Regions from separate parts of the Homo sapiens genome. Here region 2 is linked to region 1. The links are contacts of gene promoters, found by promoter capture Hi-C in human tissues and cell types (Jung and others, 2019). All regions are on one chromosome and are shown on one strand. The core of a region is centred on a gene start or on the middle of the fragment in contact, and the rest is flanking DNA. Distances in the headings are between cores, read along the strand shown. Region 1 holds the start of EXOC3L1 (exocyst complex component 3 like 1). Region 2 overlaps CBFB (core-binding factor subunit beta).

What was found. The method cuts DNA at HindIII sites, captures the fragments that hold promoters and counts their contacts. A contact is called where the count stands out against the background at its distance.
Region 2: a contact is called between a fragment that was not itself captured here and the fragment with the promoter of EXOC3L1 in region 1, in 3 of the 25 tissues and cell types used here (dorsolateral prefrontal cortex, lymphoblastoid cells and mesenchymal stem cells).

The regions. Positions count from the first base shown.
Region 1 is chr16:67,186,452-67,192,659 of GRCh38, reverse strand. EXOC3L1 (exocyst complex component 3 like 1) reads left to right here and starts at 2,524. Exons shown (of 14, transcript NM_178516.4): 1 at 2,524-2,689; 2 at 2,977-3,029; 3 at 3,480-3,640; 4 at 3,720-3,939; 5 at 4,823-5,435; 6 at 5,522-5,639; 7 at 5,776-5,901; 8 at 6,003-6,103. The coding sequence starts at 2,984. E2F4 (E2F transcription factor 4) reads right to left here and starts at 505. Exons shown (of 10, transcript NM_001950.4): 1 at 298-505. The coding sequence starts at 432. RefSeq lists a silencer at 264-453 and enhancers at 544-683, 1-782. The HindIII fragment of the contact is 11,498 bases long and covers 1-3,571 here.
Region 2 is chr16:67,085,909-67,091,304 of GRCh38, reverse strand. All of the region lies in intron 5 of CBFB (core-binding factor subunit beta), which reads right to left. Among named protein-coding and RNA genes, the nearest start is that of PHAF1, 21 kb to the left of the region's middle. The HindIII fragment of the contact is 5,567 bases long and covers 1-4,744 here.

The DNA of each region.
Region 1 (6,208 bases), core at 1,275-3,774:
AGTGCCTCCCAGGCGCTACTGCAGCTCAGGACCGCAGCTCTGTCCCATAGGCAGCTCTTCTCCTCGCCAGCCAGGAAGGGCCACGAGGACGAACACCTGCAGCCCGAGCCTGGCCCATAGCTGTAGCTCGATGGCCTCGGCCGAATGAATGAAACATCCCCCGGCTTCTCTCCTGTGAGAAAGCACACGATGGCGGCCGGCTCTCGGAGGACCCAGCTGGGCCGCCCCCGGGGTTCCCGCTACCGGCCCAGGCCTGGTCCACCAGCCTCCCTTGTCTCCCCTTAGCCCAGGCCGCACCAGCTTGAGGTCAAGCACGCCGTCCTTGGCCTCCTGCAGAAGGGACACGAACTTGGTGGTGAGCAGTCCCAGGCTCTTTTCGTGCCGGCTTGGAGTGCCCGGGGGCGGCGGCGCCTGTGGCCCGGCCTCCGCCATCGCGCCCGCCCGCCGCCTCCCCTCAGCCAGGCCAGGCCAGGCCGGCGCCGCCGCCACTTCCGCTTCCGTTCCTGGCCGCCGGGCAGCCGGAGCCAGCGTTACTGCTTCCGCTTCCGTCCCGTGCGCCTTCCAGGGAACGTGGCGCTATTGCTGTCTGTGGGTGCAGCCGCAAAACTTCAGGGACCAGTAGCAAATGTCCAGCCTCCGAATAAGACGAAAACTACCTGGGTAGACCGGGGAGTTGGGATGAAGTTGGGGAGGAATGAGAAGGGCGTCAGTGGGCCGCCCTGGCAGTAGAGAAGGGGACGCCATCGGAACTTTCCTTGCCAATCTGCCCCAACATCACTAACTCTGCCTAGTCCCCATCTTGGGAGAGGAGACCACACTACCTGACTAATCCAATCTGCTCCCTCAAACCTGTTCCTTTTCCATTTTTTTCTCTTTATTTATTCTTTTATATATTTCAAACTCATTTTACTGCCACATCAAACCTGTTCCTAAAGGCTGCCCTACTGTCTTGGGGTCACCCCATCTATTCCTATCCCTCACTTCCTGCCAAACAGCAAGCACTAACTATATCTACCTTGTCCACCTTGTTCCACCCATGGTCCTAGCCTCATCTTTCGCTCGTCTTGTCCTCACAGTACAGTGCTCAGAGACTATGGGGTTATGAACACTTCAGCCAATGCAAACGTGTTTACCTATGTGTAAATATCAGTAAAGCACTCAGTCATTCCTGGCATGCAGGAATGTGTGATACGGTCATTTTGTAACTTTTAACATTGTTACTATTTATTATTGTTTCTTTTAGATCAGGTCCTCTGGGAAATGGGACTCGAGATAGGGTTTTGCAGCAAGTTTGTTGGGGATCCACACTTTTTTTTTTTGAGACAGGGTCTCACTCTGTTGCCCAGGCCGGAGTGCAGTGGCAAGATCAATGCCGTCTCAGCTTCCTGGGCCCAAGCGATTCTCCCACCTCAGCCTCCCAAGTAGCTGGGACCACAGGCATGCACCACCATGCCCGGCTCATTTATTTTTAGTTTTTTAGAGATGTGGGTCTCACTATATTGCCCAGGCTAGTCTTGAACTCGTGGGCTCAAGAGATCCTCCCACCTCAGCCTCCCAGAATGCTGGGATGACCGGTGTGAGCCACCGCACCTGGTCAGGATCCACACCTTTAAGGGATTAAGACAAGCAGAATTGAGCAGATGCAATTATATTATAGGCCTCAGCCTATCCCACTAGGATCTCTGAAATTGGGGTAGCACTTCTGAAGGGTTCATGTTCACACGATGGTACCATGCTTTTGCACCCCAATATTGACTGAGAGACTCAGTGGTGTGATCTCAGTAGCCTACACTCCTGGCAGCTGGAGAATGAGCACTTCTGTCCTGAAGGGTGGATTTGGGTGGTGGACTGAACATCCACTAAATAATTACCACCTTATAGTCCCTTCCCTGGCTCCCTATAACTCTCAAGATAAACACAGCTGCCCAGTTGCGGTGACTCACGCCTGTAATCTCCCAACACTTTGGGAGGCTGAGGCAGGCAGATCGCTTGAGCCCAGAAGGCTGCAGTGAGCTATGGTGGTGCCACTGTACTCCAGCCTTGGTGACAGATCAAGACCCTGTCTAAAACAAAAAAGATAAACACAGCTTTCATGACCCTCTCCTACCACCCCCCACCACACCCCTCTTCACAAGAGCCTGCCACCTCTCACTCCTCCGCAGAGGTACACATCCTCCTCAGAGGCTGGCCAACACAGTTTTCATCCTGTGCTGTTGATGTCGTCTGCATCCATATCTGCACACTCTGCCCACCACCCCAGGTTGAGGCCAAGTCTAGCAAATCCCTATCTCCTCTCCTGAGCACTAAGAGGTTCTGGGTAGGCTGGTCAAGACTGGTTGAGTACAAGTACACCCCACCCCCCCGCCCCTCAGGGAAGTGTCGCCCAGCTGTCCCCACCCTCTGTGCAGACACTCTTTCCTGTTGGGAATAAAATGCCAGAGACTCAGCTTCCTTCCTTTCTGTTGATGGCCTTGGGGAGGGAGGAGCCTCGGTGGGAAGAAGGGGCTTCTGGGTGGGGAGTGGGAGAGAGACTTCCTTGGGGAGAGGAATTCAGCTGCACGCTGGAGTCAGCTGGAGTTGCCCAGGCCCTGTGAGCAAGTGGCAGGCGTGCCCAGCTGCATTGGGGAGAGGGCTGTTCTCAAGGCCAAGGTCATTTTTGGAGGGAGAACTGGACGCCTGATCAAATCTGGTAAGTTCTGTACCAAACTGTCCTGTGCAGCTCAGAGCAGGACCAGGGTCCAGTGGAGGCCTGTGCCCACTCTGTCTCGCTTGACATCTGCAGGGGCACGACTGGGAAACCTAGCAGGCAAAGCCTCCCAGGTGCCCTCCGCATCACACCCGCTCCCTCTCACTTCCCGAGGGGGCCGGGAAGAACCTCCTTCCTCCTCTCAGAAGGGCTTAGACAGAGGCAGCAGCTCACAGGGGCATCTACTCTGCCTGCTTGCCCCGGGCCCACCTCAGCTCTGGCTCCTCCAGGCCCACAATGGACTCAGCAGCCAAGGATGAGATGCAGCCGGCGTTGTCCCCTGGTATGAACCTTTTGGGTGGACTAGGGGAGGAATGATGGCAACAAAGATGGGACTGGCTGGGCGCAGTGGCTCACGCCTGTAATCCCAACACTTTGGGAGGTCAAGATGGGCAGATGACCTGAGGTCAGGAGCTCCAAACCAACCTGGCCAACATAGTGAAACCCCGTCTCTACTAAAAATACAAAAACTAGCTGGGCGTGATGGCACGCGCCTGTAATCCCAGCTCCTCGGGAGACTGAGGCAGGAGAATCGCTTGAACCCGGGAGGCGGAGGTTACAGGGACCCGAGATTGCACCACTGCACTCCAGCCTGGGCAACAGAGCGAGACTCCATCTCAATAAACAAATAAACAAACAAATAAATAAATAAATAAATAAATAAGAAAGCTGGGACTGGGGTCGTTGGGCCCTCCTCCCTGACTACACGGCTGCCCAGGCTCTTCCTTCCCAGGACCTGAGTGGCCAGAGCAGGAGCGGGCAGAGCAGCTGGCCCGGGGTGCAGCGCTCAAGTGGGCCTCAGGCATCTTCTACCGGCCGGAGCAGCTGGCCAGGCTAGGCCAGTACCGCAGCCGCGAGGTGCAGCGTACCTGCTCCCTGGAATCGCGCCTCAAGGTGGGCATGGGGCAGGGGGTGCGGGTGCTGGGACTGTGCTGCAGGGCTGGCCCAGCCTCATGGCTCCATCTTTCCACAGTCAGTGATGCAGTCATACCTGGAAGGCGTGCAGACTGGTGTGTGGCAGCTGGCCCAGGCCATTGAGGTGGTGCAGGGAACCCGGGAGGCCCTGAGCCAGGCCCGTGGGTTGCTCCAGGGCATGTCCCAGGCCTTACAGACTCTAGAGCCCCTACGGGAGCGGGTTGCCCAGCACAAGCAACTGCAGGCCCTGTCTCACCTGCTGCCTCGGCTGCGGGCAGGTGAGCATGCAGGGACCCTGGGCCTCAGCCTCCAATAGTCAGTCCACAAACACCCATCCCTAATCAAGGGGCTGGGGCACTAGATGGGGAACTGCATAGAGCAGCACACCAGGGACCTCCCAGACAGTAGCCCGGGCTTCCCATGGCCTATGAGGCAGCTCATCCTGGGATTCCCACGTGTGGGATGCTTGAGTCAGGACAGACACCCAGTCATGTGACTCTGGCCACCTGGTTATCAGTATATTCAAACTCTTCCCTAACAGAGTGGCTGAGCGAGTACTGGCAGGACCCCCCGATTTCCCCTGCCTTCCCTCCAGGATCCTCAGCTTCCTCATATTCCATGAGTTCATGGGTTGACCTCTGGCCCACCAGGTCTTTAGGACATTGCCAAGATCCTCTTAGATTGGCCAGTACTCTACTGGTTATTTATTTATTTATTTATGGTTTTTTGTTCATTTTTTGTTTTGTTTTGTTTTTGAAACAGAGTCTCACTCTGTCACCCAGGCTGGAGTGCAGTGGTGTGATCTCGGCTCACTGCAACCTCCATATCCCAGGTTCAAGCAATCCTCCTGCCTCAGCCTCCCCAGTAGCTGGGATTACAGGCATGTGCCACCATGCCTGGCTAATTTTTGTATTTTTAGTAGAGATGGGATTTCACCATGTTGGCCGGGCTGGTCTCAAACTCCTGACCTCAAGTGATTCACCCACGTTGGCCTCCCGAAGTGCTGGGATTACAGGCATGAGCCACTGTGCCCAGCTTACTCTACTGGTTGTTAAATATTTTATGCATCACCCCCGCCCTGGGCCTCAGTATCCCCTGCTGTACACATTGAGGCGGTGGGAAGGCTGAGACCCAGGGCCGTCTCCTTTTCACTCTCATTAGTGCCGGCTGCAGTGTCCCACACACAGACTCTGATTGATGGCCAACAGTTCTTGGAGGCATATGTGAGCCTTCGGGAGCTGGAGCAGCTGCGAGAGGATACGTGGGCACCCCTGGGGGGCCTGGAGTTGCCAGTCTTCCAGGGGCTGGACCTTCTGTTCGAGGCACTGGGCCAGGCTGTGGAAGCAGCTGCAGGGGCCGCAGGGAAGCTGGCACGGGAGGACCCAGCCCTGTTGGTGGCTGCTGTGCGTGTGGCGGAGGTGGAGACTGGACGAACAACCCCCCTGGGCCAGGTCCCCCGGGACTGGCGTCAGCGCTGTCTGAGGGCACTACAGGAGGGCCTGGAGCAGGCCCACTTTGGGTCACCTCTGCTGCCTGCACCAGGGGCCCTACCAGGGTGGCTGGAGGCTCTGCGAGTGGCCCTGCCAGTCGAGTTGGCCACAGCTGAGGCACTAGTAGCGCCTTGCTGCCCGCCACAGTACAACGTGGTCCAGCTATGGGCCCACACGCTGCATAGTGGTTTGCGCCGCAGCCTGCAGAACCTCCTTGCAGGGCCTGAGCTAGAAGCTGCGGATGCCTTCGCCTTGCTGCACTGGGCACTGCATGTGTACCTGGGGTCAGTGCCTTTGGGGCAGCGGGACATGGGGGATCAGAGGCTGGGGGCTTGGTGGCTTGGTGTGACACCAGGCCACCTATCTCCAGGCAGGAAATGATGGGGAGCCTGGAGTTGGGGCCTGAGGCTGATGTGTCCCAGCTGGAGCCCCTTCTGACCTTGGAGAACATTGAGCAGCTGGAGGCAACATTTGTGGCCAACATCCAGGTGAGTAGTTGAGGCACAGGTCCAGAGAAGTCCTACTTATCTGCTGTGGGCCTTTATCTGCAGAGTGGAATGTCTACCCATCTCCAGCAGGGTCAGATCCCTGCTACATTCCTTTGCCCCTGGCCCCTCCCCCCAGGCAAGTGTGTCTCAGTGGCTGCAGAATGCACTGGATGGGGAGGTAGCTGAGTGGGGCCGGGAGCATGGGCCCAACACAGACCCGTCTGGCTCCTATTACTCACCAATGCCAGCCATTGTGCTGCAGGTAGGTGGGAAGTGGCCAGACAGGCAGGCAGCCTCCATGGGGCAGTGGGGAGGAGAGGAAGGAGGGAGGCTTTGCCGATGGCTGCTCATTTCTGCCTGCAGATCCTGGAAGAGAACATTCGTGTGGCCAGCCTGGTCAGTGAGTCACTGCAACAGCGAGTGCATGGCATGGCACTGTCAGAACTGGGCACATTCTTGAGGAGGTTTGCTGAGGCACTGACCCATTCCTGATCCCTATCCCTGCTCCCCAGGCAGCCCAAAGGGGCTCTGAGTGAATAAGACATGTCACAGGGAAAGGGCTCTTTCAA
Region 2 (5,396 bases), core at 712-3,211, 100 kb after region 1:
TTGAAAAATCCATATCCTGCAGATAGAATAATTTTTAGAAACTAAAACAAGGCTAAAACAAAAATAAATCTTAATAAAGTCTATTGCTCCTCTGATAGAGAACCAAGACTCTCTTCCTCTGGTAGTGGGGGAAGTCAGATTTCGTATCCTTTTCCTCCTTCATTAATCTTCTTCCGATTCTCATTCTCAGTCTGAGTTCATACTCCCAGTTCATTCTCATCTACTGCCATTACCCAAAACACAACCCAGGAAGGCCTAGCACAGACATATTCTCATGCTGATTTATCCATACACAAGAAAGAATATTGGTAGAGTTAAATAATTTGAAAACTGAAGTCTTCGGAAATTTAAAATAAATAGAGGCTGAGATTTTTTTCTTGGACCACACAGAATTGAAGGCCCCAAAACTATGCAAAATACAAATACAAAAACCACATAAAACTTTTTGCCTGTTTTTATTTCCAAATAGTTTCCACATAAAATTCTATGATTTGAATTGTATTAAAATTGCTCATAGTAGGATAAACAATAATTTACCCATTCTCTGACATTAAAGACAACCATTTATTTGCTGCCACTTTATAATCTAACCAAATGTAGGCATTTTTAAGATAATAGAGAAAATATCTTTAAGCACCCTGTCACCTTGGAGCTGAGTTAAAAGCCAAGAGTGCTATATTACAGTTTTAGGTCAAAAGGCCAATCAAGTTGAAGGCAGTCTCTGGAAACAGAGACTAGTGTACAAGTTGCTATCTTTCTAACTCAACTATGATCAGAGCATGAAATCTGTCCTTTATTAACCTCCATCTTCCTTCACAAAAGACATTTGAATTAGTTATAGACATATATACCCCAAAAAGAAAGGTCATGGGAAACATGTCAACATTTTCAGATCAAGGAAGGATTCTCAGACAGAAAAGGTGCTAGGATGCTTCTATATAGCAACAGATGCCAATGGAGAGCATTTCACAAAAGTAACGTCTGTGATTATTTTTTATTTTTAAAAGCCTTCTTTTTATACAAGTACAGAATAGTGCCCAAATTGTTAAGTATGTAATGAAGAATTTTCACAAAGCGAACACACCCACCTAACTAGCACCCAGGTCAAGAACTAACATTACCAGAACATGGGAAGTTCTCTTCATACCCACTTCTAGTCACTACTCAATCCCCACAGTAACTGGTAGCCTCCAACAGAGCCAAGAAAAGTCCAAAATCCTTTACTGGTTGTTTTAAAAAACCAAACCAACCAACCAAACAAAAAACACCAGAATCTAAAATGGCTTGGCAAAATAGTATCTTCGACTTTCATAGTCTAAAGTTAGGATATGACTACTTTTACTGTTTTCCTGCCACTCCAGATATATTGTGAGCCAAGTACACAGAAAGAAGGGGTAAAGAAACTGGCTTCCACTGAGTCCCCATTCTAAGCCTCAGATACTGAGCTCTGCAACAACCTGGGAGGGAGTTTTTACTGATGAGGCTCAATGAGAATAAGCAACTTTCTCAATGCTATATGGCAACAAGTAGTGGAGCCGGGATGCAAAACCTTGTGCTCATTCCACTACATCCAGAGTCCTCATTATGTTCTGCCACCCACTGGGTTCCGTAAAAACACCCCCAGGGACACCAGAGGGAGACCAGAACAATCCCTACCCTGGCTTTGCCCAGAGCAGTGCCTTTTAAAAAAACTGTTTTATACAGTGGGGCTCTGTATACAATTTCAAATGGAGGAAGGGTTTCACATAAAAAACAGCCTATATGCCAGAGAATAGAGATAGCAAGGTCTAGAATCTTCTGTTTTCATTATTCTGTGTAATACTGAAAGCAAATTTTATTTTTTTCTAAATAATTAATGATACAAAATTCATAAGGTACAGAAGATACACAGTGAAAAATAATAATTTGCTTATTTTGTCCCCCAGGTACCTGGTTCTCCCCCATAGTTTCTAGTTCCAGTTTCTTAGATATTCTACTAGAGAATGACTATGCACATTTAAACAAAAATTACCCACAGAGTAGGAAAAATACCCAGAGAGTAAGATATTATACACAGTACTGTGTACCTTATGTATATCATTTTAATGTATATCAATGACAAGAGTATTTGGTAAAGGTTACTAACATAAACAATGCTTCTTCATTTCACTATAGTTTCTCATTTCAAGTTAATGATAATCTGCCATTACCTCTGAAAGGTAAAGAAAATATTGTACTACTGAAATAGGCTGTTCCAGAAAAATGAGAAAAAGAAAACACTAAATCCTATCATGAAGGATCGAAAACTTTCTAAATTTTACACATGGTGAAATGGAAGAATGCTCAAGGAATTTTATAACTAGTTTCAGGTTAAAAGACACTGTTGAAAATCAAAACCCCTTGGGCCACCAACCACTTGGAGTTCTGCTTCCCCCCTTAGTAATCTTAACCTTACACATAGATTAAATACTCACGAGCACCACTGTTACAAGTTTAGCATGGCAGGGCTGGAGGCCTCAGAAGTTATCCAAACAGTGGAGGACATCCCTAAACCTCTGTGCTGCTAGGATCTCAAGCTTCCACAGGCCGTTTACTGACTTGCTGCCACCCATGAGTTACCACTGTTCTCTGGCCCTCCTCTCCAGTCAGGCATCAGGACCACCCACTAGAACCATTATTTTTCTTTTCTGCCTCAGCCTTTTCTATTCCAGGCAAAACGGTTCTTAATCTCTCCTGGCAGATTTTATTTTTCAGCTTAAGCATCTTTACGGGTGGTGTGGAAATTAATTTCCCAGCGCTAAGCTGTATTTGTGCAGGCCTCCTGGTTAGGAAACTGGTTTAAATACTCACTGTTTCTTCCATTAACCAAATATTTGAGGGAGAGCAAGTCAATTAATTTTTTGGAGACTCTCAGTTTTATCAACTGTAATAATGTTAGATTAGATGATGTTTGAATCTCTAAAGATAATCTGAATCACAGAGGGGAAACAACATTTTTCTCCAATATTCTCTTTTTAGGAAAAAGAAGGTAAACTGCAAGAAAATAAGGTGACATTAGGAATTTTTTATGGATGGAAAAAAAAGACAAAGAAGCAAAATATATACACGCTAAGTGCCAAAAGACACACAAACCCCAAACTCCCCTATGTGATTGCCAGTGCATGTGCTGGAGTCAGATTCCAGCCCAATTTTCCAGATGACAGTTCTCTACAAGAACTGATGTTTTAAATTACTGCCATAAGGGACTACAGGATCTTAAATCATTGATGAAAATATAACTCTTTTCTCTATGCTCTAGGTCATAATGTAGGGAAAGTGCCTTGATACACTTCAGAGAACTAAAAGGATGTTCTTGTTAGCCAAATAATTCAATTAACTGGAACCAGCATTATGGTGGAGCTTTTAGTGCTAAAAAGAAGTACTTCAGAGCTATTATTTACTGTAGGCATACACATACCAAGCATCATACTAAGTGCTTTACAAGCATTTTCCCATTTAATACTCAAATTCTGTGAGAAAATTAGGGCTCTTGAGGCAAGTGACGGAGCAGGAATCTCAACTAGGCCTGACTACAAAGCCCATGCTCTCAATCACTGACAAAAAAACAAGTAGAAACAATCTATCTGAGCAACAAATTATGTGACACTTCTATCAACAGACTATATTTCTGTTCATATATACATATAAACTCACATACCAAAATATTCTTCCAACATTTTAAATTAGAAAAATCAAATTAACAATGTATTTATTTCTTTTTGTGGGGTCAGGGAGACAGGGTCTTGCTCTGTTGCCCAGGCTGGAGTGCAGTGTCACAATCATAGTTCACTACAGCCTTGACCTCCTGGGCTCAAGCGATCCTCCCACCTAGCCTCCCAAGTAGCTGGGAACACAGGCACATGCTACCATGCCTAGCTAGTTTTTAAATTTTTTGTAGAGACAAAGTCTTGCTGTGTTGCCCAGGCTGGTCTTGAACTCCTGGGCTCAAGCAATCCTCCCTCAGCCTCCCAAGGTGCTGAGATTAAAGGTGTGAGCCACCACAATTTAGAATAGAAAATTCTTAGTCAATTAATCTAGAGTTTTATGTAAAGCAAAATACATACAAAAGCTTTCAACAGTTGTTCCATTAATTGTCAAATAGTTAATCTCCAAATATAATGTAGCTGAAGAGCACTTTTTAGAAAATGATTCCTATATTCATTTAAAGCCATGTTAGCTTGCTCCAGAAATACTGACCAATCACACTCTCTTGACTTGGCAGGCTCTCTTACTCCTCCTTACTCCTCCATGCCTTTGCATACACTGTTTGTCCTGCCCAGAATGCTTTCTCCAACTTGAACAGCTGGCAAAACACACTCTTCCTTCAAATCCCTCTAAGTATACTACCCTGTGAATTTCCCAAGCAGAGGCAGACTTAAGCTTCCTCTACACTGCTGCTGTCCCTTTTGAACCTCCATTATGTATGGTGGTTGCTAAAGTACACTGCAATGATCTGTTTATCCATCATTTTCCCACAAGACTGACAGCTGATCAAAGACAGAAACAATGCATTTTCATCTATATATTTCTCAGTCCCTAATGCAGAATACAGACCAACACACTTGGGGTTTATTACTTTACTTAACTAGTTAATATAAACCAACACATTATAAATATTTAGAATCTTTCCAGAGACCATTAATATGTATTATCTACATGAACTATCATAGCAGGCTCTCCTATAATTCTAGTTTTCAGACAGGCAGGATAGGGGCTGTTTTTTGAAGATATCCAATGAACAACTAAGCAGTGTACAAAGGATTGTGGTAGGTAATGTGGAAGACACAAAAATCAGGGGCTCCATCTCATGGGATTGCCATAAAGTGGAGGGCACAAATGTTTATAATTGTTTCAACATGTTGTTCAATAAGAACACTAGTAGAAATAAAAAGTGCTACAGAATGGAAGGGCTTTATGATTATGACTAAGAAGACTGAGGAAAGGCCTGACATTTAATGACAACATTCAGGTTGGGCCTTGACGGACAGAAAAGAACATTCTACATCAGGGAACAAAGAGCATGAGCAAAAAGGTTCAGAAATGTAACAAATGTACATTATACATTTTAAAGCTTCTAAATTTTACAGATACCGAAAGAAAGGGCATGGTGTGGAAGTCTTGTATTCACATATATGAAAATCACAAGAATTACAACAGCATCAAAGAAAACAAGTATCACATATATCCCTCCATTTTCTTCTCTTAGCTAACAAGTATTCTTGGGGACATCCTCAGCTGCTATCAGCCCATTAGATTAATTAACTCACTGACAAAGAGATCTAGCAATCACTAAAAGATACTAAATTTTAAGCCGGGCACAGTGGCTCAAGCCTGTAATCCCAGCTCTTTGGGAGGCCAAGGCGGGCAGATCACGAGGT